Linked DNA regions of Homo sapiens: region 2 is linked to region 1. Evidence: promoter capture Hi-C in human tissues and cell types (Jung and others, 2019). All regions are on one chromosome and are shown on one strand. Each heading gives the region's core, a stretch centred on a gene start or on the middle of the fragment in contact. The rest is flanking DNA. Distances are from core to core; before and after follow the strand shown.

Evidence for each region. The method cuts DNA at HindIII sites, captures the fragments that hold promoters and counts their contacts. A contact is called where the count stands out against the background at its distance.
Region 2: a fragment that was not itself captured here is called in contact with the fragment with the promoter of OSTC in region 1 in 1 of the 25 tissues and cell types used here (dorsolateral prefrontal cortex).

Annotation. Positions count from the first base shown.
Region 1 is chr4:108,648,411-108,652,897 of GRCh38, forward strand. OSTC (oligosaccharyltransferase complex non-catalytic subunit) reads left to right here and starts at 2,189. Exons shown (of 4, transcript NM_021227.4): 1 at 2,189-2,384. The coding sequence starts at 2,246. It also overlaps the pseudogene RNU6-431P. RefSeq lists enhancers at 2,129-2,478, 3,093-3,142. The HindIII fragment of the contact is 8,012 bases long and covers 1-4,487 here.
Region 2 is chr4:109,310,011-109,314,497 of GRCh38, forward strand. It overlaps COL25A1-DT (COL25A1 divergent transcript), which reads left to right. Exons shown (of 3, transcript NR_160939.1): 2 at 3,333-3,431. Among named protein-coding and RNA genes, the nearest start is that of COL25A1-DT, 9.2 kb to the left of the region's middle. The HindIII fragment of the contact is 4,157 bases long and covers 512-4,487 here.

The DNA of each region.
Region 1 (4,487 bases), core at 939-3,438:
ATGTTATGTTTAAATAGAACATTTTTCTGTAGGAATTGTGGGTTAGGACATGGATGATAACAGATATGCATATCTTACTCATGAAAGGTCTCTTTTATACGTGGCTTATAGAATATTACAAACTCATGTTGAAAAATATTTCAAAGCTTAAGAGGTTAAAAAATAATAATGAATTGGTTCCTGGAGCAAACTTACTTTTTGGAAAGTGATAGTAATAATTTAACATATAGATGAATGCAGTGTGTTCTGACTTGGCAGTTTTATTATTTATGAAATTAATTTTTCATTTAAAAATTATATATTAATAATTTATATGTTTTCCACAATGTAGGTAGAAATTATGTGTCCCTAGTATACACAGGAAGAAGGATAAGTATATAAACGTATACCATTTTAAACGTCTTAAATCTATTTACTTCTACAGCAATTGCCTTTTAGGTCTCATCCAGTCACAGACTATACTACACTTTTTGAGTTTATTTCCCTTCCCAGGAGCCACTTTTGTCATATGTAAAGCAGTTATACTAGTATTTACCTAACAGAATTGTCATGAAGAGTATATAAGCACAAATGTAAATCACTTAACATAGTACCTGCCAAGCAGTGGTTAATTAATGTTAGATTCCTTTTTAAGCTATAAAGGAAATTTAAAAACCTTTAATCCCTATGTTTTTCCAAAGCAAAATGTTTTATTTTTATTTTTTTCTTCATACCAAAGCAAAATATTTTAATTGTTCCAAAGTGTTCCTTACTTATAAAACTGTGGGAATTTCAGAAACATTCTGCTTTACAGTGCCCAGAGAAACTTCCTACATATAAACGCTGGTTTTGGTGTAAATGCATTCATTATTGGTGTTATCATTGGCCTTTACATAACCTAAGATTCGTGTGGCTCCGTTAAGACATAGGCAATATGACTCTGGGAGAGACTCTCACTAATGAACAGTAAGGGCAGCAAGCCTCAACTGTACTTAGAATTGGATACTACAATGTTTTGATAGTATTTTCATTACCGTCTTCAAGCAATTTCTTAACAATTGAGTTGTTAGCTAATTAGAAGTGCAGAACCAATACATGGCATCCTGTAAAAATAACCACGGGCTTAGTAACAAGCAAATAAAAAAATATAAAAACATTGGCTCTATAATGTGTCAATATGCTCTGGACTTATGTAATCAGTGACTCTTAACTCTTGCTCCAAAAGGAAGTTAACATTTGTAGAGTCTTAAAAGATTATATAAAAAAGAAAAGCAAAACAGAAAACAAAAAATCTTTTAGACCTTCTAGTCCATCCCTAATGACTAATTCTCCATCATATATTTTCATCTATTTGGATTGTAAATGTTGCCCAGACCAGAGATGGCGGTGGTTCACACTAGGGTGTCAGTGGTGGAATGGTGAGGGGCAGATGAATTGGAGATATTTTGGTAGTACAGCCAAAGAGACCTACTAATATTTTGGATGCAGAAGGTTAGTAAGGAGAGAAATCCAGACGACTTTAAGATTTTTGGCCAGAGGGATTTTACCTTTTAGCGACATACAGATGACCAAGGGAAGAGCAAAGTTGAGAGGATGAGTTATTCAAAATAGTATTATGGTCACGCCAAGCTATCAGCATTAAGGCATCCCTGTAGAGATGTCCTGTTGACATTTGTGATCCAGGCTGGATGTTTAAAAAAAATTGGTAACATATTACTTTAGCAACTATTATTAATTCTTATTATTACCACGACTACATCGGGAAGTAAAAGCTCAGCAGCCTCCGGCTTTTCCTAACCCTTGAAAAAACCTCTAATATAAAAGGCATTTATATCCAAAAGTTCCCATTCATCTCCCGCTCTGGGAACCGGGAGCGCCCCCTGTCCAATCAGCTTTCAAATCCCCTGCGTCAGCGAGTGGGCGGGGCTCACCTAGATTCCTTGGCCTCCGCTTCTCCGGCTTGGCCACGTTAGAAGTCCCGCAGGTCCTTGAAGGTACACAAATCACCTATATATCCATTAGAAAAATGTAGAGTACATTATCACAATGTAAGTTTAATTAGATTAAATAATTTACAACACTTTATTCATATCATTTATTTGTTTTATTTAGTTTCTTATTTTCTTCTATGAGTATAGTAACCACCTCCGAGCTTTACGGATCTGCGGGTCCTTTCCTCGCGCACGCGCACTTGTTAGGGAGGGCGGGCCTGTTTCCGGGAGGCGCGTGGGGCTTGAGGCCGAGAACGGCCCTTGCTGCCACCAACATGGAGACTTTGTACCGTGTCCCGTTCTTAGTGCTCGAATGTCCCAACCTGAAGCTGAAGAAGCCGCCCTGGTTGCACATGCCGTCGGCCATGACTGTGTATGCTCTGGTGGTGGTGTCTTACTTCCTCATCACCGGAGGTAACTCGGGCTGTCGGGCCCGAGAGGCTGAGGAGCGGAGAACTGACCCGCCCCGGGAGGCGCGTCTGTTCCGCTGACTCTCAGCCCCGGGGGAAGCATAGCTCTGCTTTGGATCTTTTCTGAGGGTGGAGGGGAGTTCTGGGGTCCGAAGTGTTAACGTCCAAGTTTATTCGCCTTCACGCCCTGTCTTAAGAGAATTCGTGTTCTCACTCCCATTGCCTTTCTTCTCCTTCTAGCCCTCCCATCCCAGGGATCCGAGTCAAATATATTTTTCAAGGCCAAATTGTTGCTCTTTTTGTTGCTTGCCATACGTTGTTTGATAAATGTCCTGGGAAAGCCTAATTTGGCAAACTCCGTTTCCATGGTTGGTTGTTTGATAAAGGTCCTGGGAAGGTCTAATTTGGCCAACTCCGCTTCCATGGTTGGTCAAGAGCTTGTGGGACTTTTAAACTTATCTTTGTCCTGGAATCTTGGAAGAGACTTGACAATCTTTAGTTTTGTTGGCTCAAACCTAGGGTTCTGTGTTGCCTTTTGCATGACCTACAATAAATATCAATGGAATTTTCTGAAATCACAGGTTTGATAAATATTTGAGATTGGAGATGAGATTTGCAGACGATACTGTATTTCAGTGGGCAGAAGTTGAGAATTAAAAAAATAAGATAAATAGCATTACTATTAAACGCTTCTGAATTGTCTATCATCTTATTCTGTCCTTTTCAAATAGAAAATTGCAAAGGGGCGTTGCCTTATGTACTGGTGAGTTGGCAATCCGGCTAGTCTTTTCAGAGCCACTACCCTTTCAGGCCACAGTTCCAAGATTTACTTAGAACTGTGCTACTGTGTACATTTAGATTTGGGGAAGTGGTGTACTTAACTTGGAAATTATAAAATTAATTTAGATTTTGGGAAGTGGTGTACTTAACCTGGAAATTATAAAATTAAAGCTACGGATTTGGGATAGCAAAAGTAGTTCTACTTTTAAGGGAGTGGCCATATAATTGTTATTTTCATAGATGTTTTGTGAGAATAGTTGGCACTGAAGGGGGAGGATTCAAACTGAGAGAGCTGAGTTCTAGAAAGCACCTTTGAATTTACCTCCTTCCCCCAATCTAGAATAGTGAGAATTAACTTACGTTCATTTAAATAAATTACATTTAAATATTTGAGTTACATTTAAATACTTATTTGGTAACAAGATACTATCTAGCATTGCATTAGCATTAACCATTAACATTTGCTCATCAAGTTAATAGCTACTGTACTGAATAAACAAAATTTAAAATGCATGTGGCTTTTAAAAATAATAGACTTTTAAAAATAAATAATATAGAATAATTCAGTATTATTATTGAGTGCTCGCTTCGGCAGCACATATACTAAAATTGGAATGATAGGGAGAAGATTACCATGGCCCCTGTGCAAGAATGACTCGCAAATTCGTGAAGCGTTCCATATTTTTGCACAGTTCACGAAGGTCGTTGGACAAAAAAAAAGTCATTATTCAATAATAATAATGAATAATGCTAGTTTCTTTCCTGTAACCCTTACTTCCCTTGGAGTCGGATTCTTTGCGAGAAGCCTCAGTTTTCTTTGTGGCCCTCTTTTTTCTCCTGTTGATTATTGTAATGGGGAGATTCTTTGTCCCAACCATTGGGGGAAAGTGGAAAGGTTGCTTTTTAGTGGCCAGGTCTATGAGGTATCTTGTATGATGAATTGGTTTTGCCACTGGAAGGGAAGAAGTCTCTTCTAAAAACTGAGTGCACCTTTATAAATAAACTATTTGTTGCTGACAAATAGTCAGCAAATAGATACTGAGTCCCGTTAAGTTTCAGGCACTAGGTACTGGAGATAATAGAACAAAACATAAGGACCCTGACCTCCTGAAGCTTATAATGTCATAGATGAGACATATTAAATGTCACTTAATTTTTTTGTCCGTTAAAAATGTTCACAAAAACAGGCCAGGCGCAGTGGCTCACGCCTGTAATCCAACACTTTGGGAGCCTGAGCCAGTTGGATCATTTGAGCCCAGGAGTTCGAGGCCAGCCTGGGCAACATGGCGAAACCCTGTCTCTACTGAAAATACAAAAAATTAACCAG
Region 2 (4,487 bases), core at 1,340-3,839, 660 kb after region 1:
AAAATAAAGGTCCAATTTATCATCACAAATACTTCAATTTGTGAGTGTAAACCGAAAATTCTAAGTCCCCCATCCAACTGCATGGACCCCTCCTCTCAGCCAAGGGCATTCTAAGGTAAACCTGAAACACTAGTTCAGGCTATCCTGGGAATGGGTGGTCGGACATGCCTCATTATACCTTTCTCCCATTAAAATTCAGGCACAGCTGACCAGCATTAACATTAAAATGAGACCGTAAGACCGACAGAACAGTCTTTTTATAGCAAGAAGATACCAACATGACAGATAGCAAGGCCTGTTAGAAACCAAAGTATTTTACCCCAAAATATGTTTCTTTGCCATTTCTTGAAACAGCCCTGCAAAGTTGTCTCTTGTGGGGCAAATCTACATTTTGTGTAGAGAATCCCCTTCCCTTTTCAGGCATTTTTCCTGATCCAGGAGAGAATCAACTGGGAGTTTGGAACTTTTTTAAGTCTGGAAAGAAACATTTGCAACCTGTTCTCTCTGAAGCCTACTGCCTGGAGGCTTCATCTGCATAATGGAAACCTTGGTCATCACAACCCCTTATCTTAGCCCAGGCATTCCTTTCTATTGATTCTAGGTCTTTAGACAGTAATTTAACTCTTTCAACCAATTGGCAGTCAGAAAATCATTGAATTCACCTATGACCTGGAAGCCCCTGCTTTGAGTTGTCCCACCTTTTCAGACCAAACCAATGTACATCTTACACGTATTGATTGATGTCTTACGTCTCCCTAAAGTGTATAAATCTAAGCTGTAGCCTGATCATCTCAGGCACATGTTCTTAGGACTCCTTGGGAATGTGCCCCAGGCTATTAGTCGCTCATATTTGGTGCAGAATCAAACTCTTCTTATATTTTACAGAGTTTGACTCTTTTCATTGACATGAGAAAAAAATTAATGGTGTTCATCCCCTAATTGAAAAGGACCAACAATTAAGAACAGAGACAATAGCCAACATCATAGACATTGCGATTGATTTGGCTTACACAATCTGACGGTAAAATTAAAGTTGAGAAAATTTTCCACTCAGTGAGTGCCAAAACCACTGCACCCAGATTAGCTGCCAACAGTAGCAAAGCTTTCAATGAAAATGTTAAACAAGTGGGATCAAGATCCTGAAGCATTTCTTTGAAGAACTGTAACAGGAGATGAAACATGGCTTTACCGGTATGCTCCTGAAGACAAAGCACAATCAAAGCAATGGCTACCAAGAGGTGGACGTGGTCCAGTCAAAGCAAAAGCAGCCCAGTCAAAAGCAAAGGTCATGGCAACAATTTTTAGGGATGCTCAAGGCATTTTGCTTGTTGACTTTCTGAAGGGCCAAAGAATTATAATATCTGCTTATTATGAGAATGTTTTGAGAAACTTAGCCAAAGCTTTAGCAGAAAGATGCCCAGGAAAGCTTCACCAGAGAGTTCTGCACCATGGCAATGCTCCCGTTTATTCTTTTCTCATTTAACAAGGGCAAATTGGGAAGAGTTTCTACAGTCCTGATTTGTCTCCTTCTGACTTCTCTTTGTTTCCTAATCTTTAAAAAATCTTTAAGGGACACTCATTTTTCTTTAGGTAATAATGTTAAAAAAGACTGCATTGACATGGTTAAATTCCCAAGACCCTCAGTTCTTTAGGAATGCACTAAAGAAAGGTCTGGATGATTGATGACAAAAGTGTCTAGAACTTGATGGAGCTTAATTTGAGAAATAAAGTTTATATTTTTTATTTTTACCTTTTAATTCCATTATTCCGTGAACTTTTTGAAGATCCCTTGCATAAAGCATTTAAAAGATAATAAAGGAGAATGTAATCATGACCTTGGATTGAGGCAGGGTTTTCTAAATAATATACGTAAAGAGCTAGCCACAGAGGAAATGATTGATAAATTGGAATATATTAAATCAAGATCTTCTGTTTATTAAAAAAACTTAAAATGATTGAAATACAAGACAAAGAATGAGAAAAGATATTTGCAAAATATAGAAATGAGAAAAGACTATTATCTAGAATGTATAAGAATTCTTGCAAATCAATGCGAAAAAGCATCAGACAACCTAATAAAAAAAATTAGCAAAAGCTTAAATAAGCACTTTTATAAGTGAAAAATAAAAAACAGCCAATAAACATTTTTAACTTTTATTTTAAGTTCAGGGGTACATGTGCAGGTTTGTTACATAGGTAAACTATGTCACAGGAGTTTATTGTAAAGATTATCTCATCACCCAGGTATTAAGCCTAATGTCCATTAGTATTTTTCCAAATCCTCTCCTCCATCCCACCCTCCACCCTCTAGTAGGCCTCAATGTGTGTTGTTCCACGCTATATGTCCTATACTCTCATTATTTAGCTCCCAGTTATGAGTGAGAACAGGCAGCATTTGATTTTTTGTTCCCATATTAGTTTACTAAGGTTAGGCATCCAACTCCATCCATGTCCCTGCAAAGGACATGATCTCATTCTTTTTTGTGGCTGAATAGTATTCCATGGTGTATTTGTATCATGTTTTCTTTATCCAGTCTATCATTGATGGGCATTTAAGTTGATTCCATGTCTTTGCTATTGTGAATAGTGCTGCAATTAACATACACATGAATTTTTTTATAATAGAACAATATATATTTCTGTAGTTATATACCCAGTAATGGGATTACTCGGTCAAATGGTATTTCTGTCTTTAGGTGTTTGAGGAATCACCACACTGTCTCCCACAATGGTTGAACTAATTTACACTCCCAACAACAGTGTATTAATGTTCCTTTTTCTCCACAACCTTGGCTGTGATAGCCACAGGAGATAGACAAATTTCTAGGCAGACAGGATGGGTCCTTGGTGAAACTCAACCTTCAAGCCAAAGACAGTCTAAAGCCTGAAAACTGAGCTACTAATTCAGGATAGAAGCCACAGATCTGAGTGAGAACTTCCATCCCCACCTTATCCACTGTCTCTCAATAGGTTCTTTCTGAATGATGCCTTTTAACCAATTGAATGGTGTCTTTTCCAAGCCCACCCATAAACCAATCAGCACACGTTCCCCTATTCTAAGCCCATAAAAACCCTGGACTCAGCCTCACTGATGGCAGTCTACTTTTGGGTCCCCTCTTGCTGAGGGCTTTCTTTCTGTCACTCAATAAAATTCAACTCTGCCTTACTCACTCTCCAATGTCCATGTACCTCACTCCTCTTGGTCATTAGACAAGAACTCAGAACTCACCAAACTGCAGGAGTGAAAGAGCAGTAACGCTCCCTCCCACTCGCTGAACTACGGGAGTAAAGAAGTTGATTGGTGCCACTCTCTCCCTCTCGCCAAACTACAGGAGTGAAGAAGCCACTGGGAGCCACTCCCTCTCACTCACCGAACTATGGGAGTAAAGAAGCTGCAACATTTCTGGAGGCTCGTCCAGGTCTTCAGAAGGGTGAGTAAGAGCAGACCTGTGACCCTTTACTTTCATTTCTGAGGACTCTCATCCTCACTTTTTTTTCGAAAACAGATAAAACACCAAGTCTCTGTTAGACAGTTAAGGGTGAATAGACCAACTGCCAATCTACAAGACTCAGAGGACAGACTTGCTCGGGAGGACATTGTCAGTCCCCCTTCATCCTTGGGTGTTGGGAATGTTGGCCTTGTTCCAATCCAGTTTCCTTTCCTGGAAGTCTAGCCATTACGTAGGTTGGAATAAAGTCCTGAACAACTGAAGGTATCTGGCCAAGGCACACTTTGGTGTTACCTGAAGACTCCTGGACCAGCTCCAATCCCCCACAGCCCATTCAGGTGCCAGGCCAAGGCTTTCAGTCCTTCCTATCTAATTTTCTTTCTTTCAAGAGTGTCCTGACTGCTATCCCCTATTTATAGACAATGTTACCGGTGTTTTTGCAACGAAAAGAGATACTATTACTGGATAGAATGAGGACTTGGCTTAGTCATCAGGAGTGTAATCCAGAACAATGTTGCTTCTGTCTATTCTTAGAAATAGAGGGATGTAACAATTAAGAGAGTTTTCTTTCCCCTGTTGAAGAAACTCATTACCACAGAACAAGAGGCTATTTCCCCCAGCCACCTTCCCTCCTCTGCATTTAAATTGCTTTTTTCCACCCTGTCAGAGTCAACATAATCCTGCGAATACAAGGAGCTTTTCCATGCAAGGGATTAATGTTTTCCTTTTGGGAGGCATCTTATTAGGCCAGGTCCCCAATTCCCAGGATTCCCTTTCTTTCCTTTGTTTGAGGAGGATCTGGTTCCACACCTTCACCTTAGTATTACTCCATTGTATTTTCCAAGCTTCGATTTGGAGCCCTATAAAGAAAACTAGATTTGAGGGACCAAGAGGCAGTCAACAGCAAAAGGCTAGGGCACAGCACAGGTAAGAATGACTATCCCTGCCAATTAGGCCTTCCCACTTCATGGGTGGAGGTGATGTTCATATCCATGATGTAGACACCACCAGCCCATCCATGGCACCAGTACTAGGTGC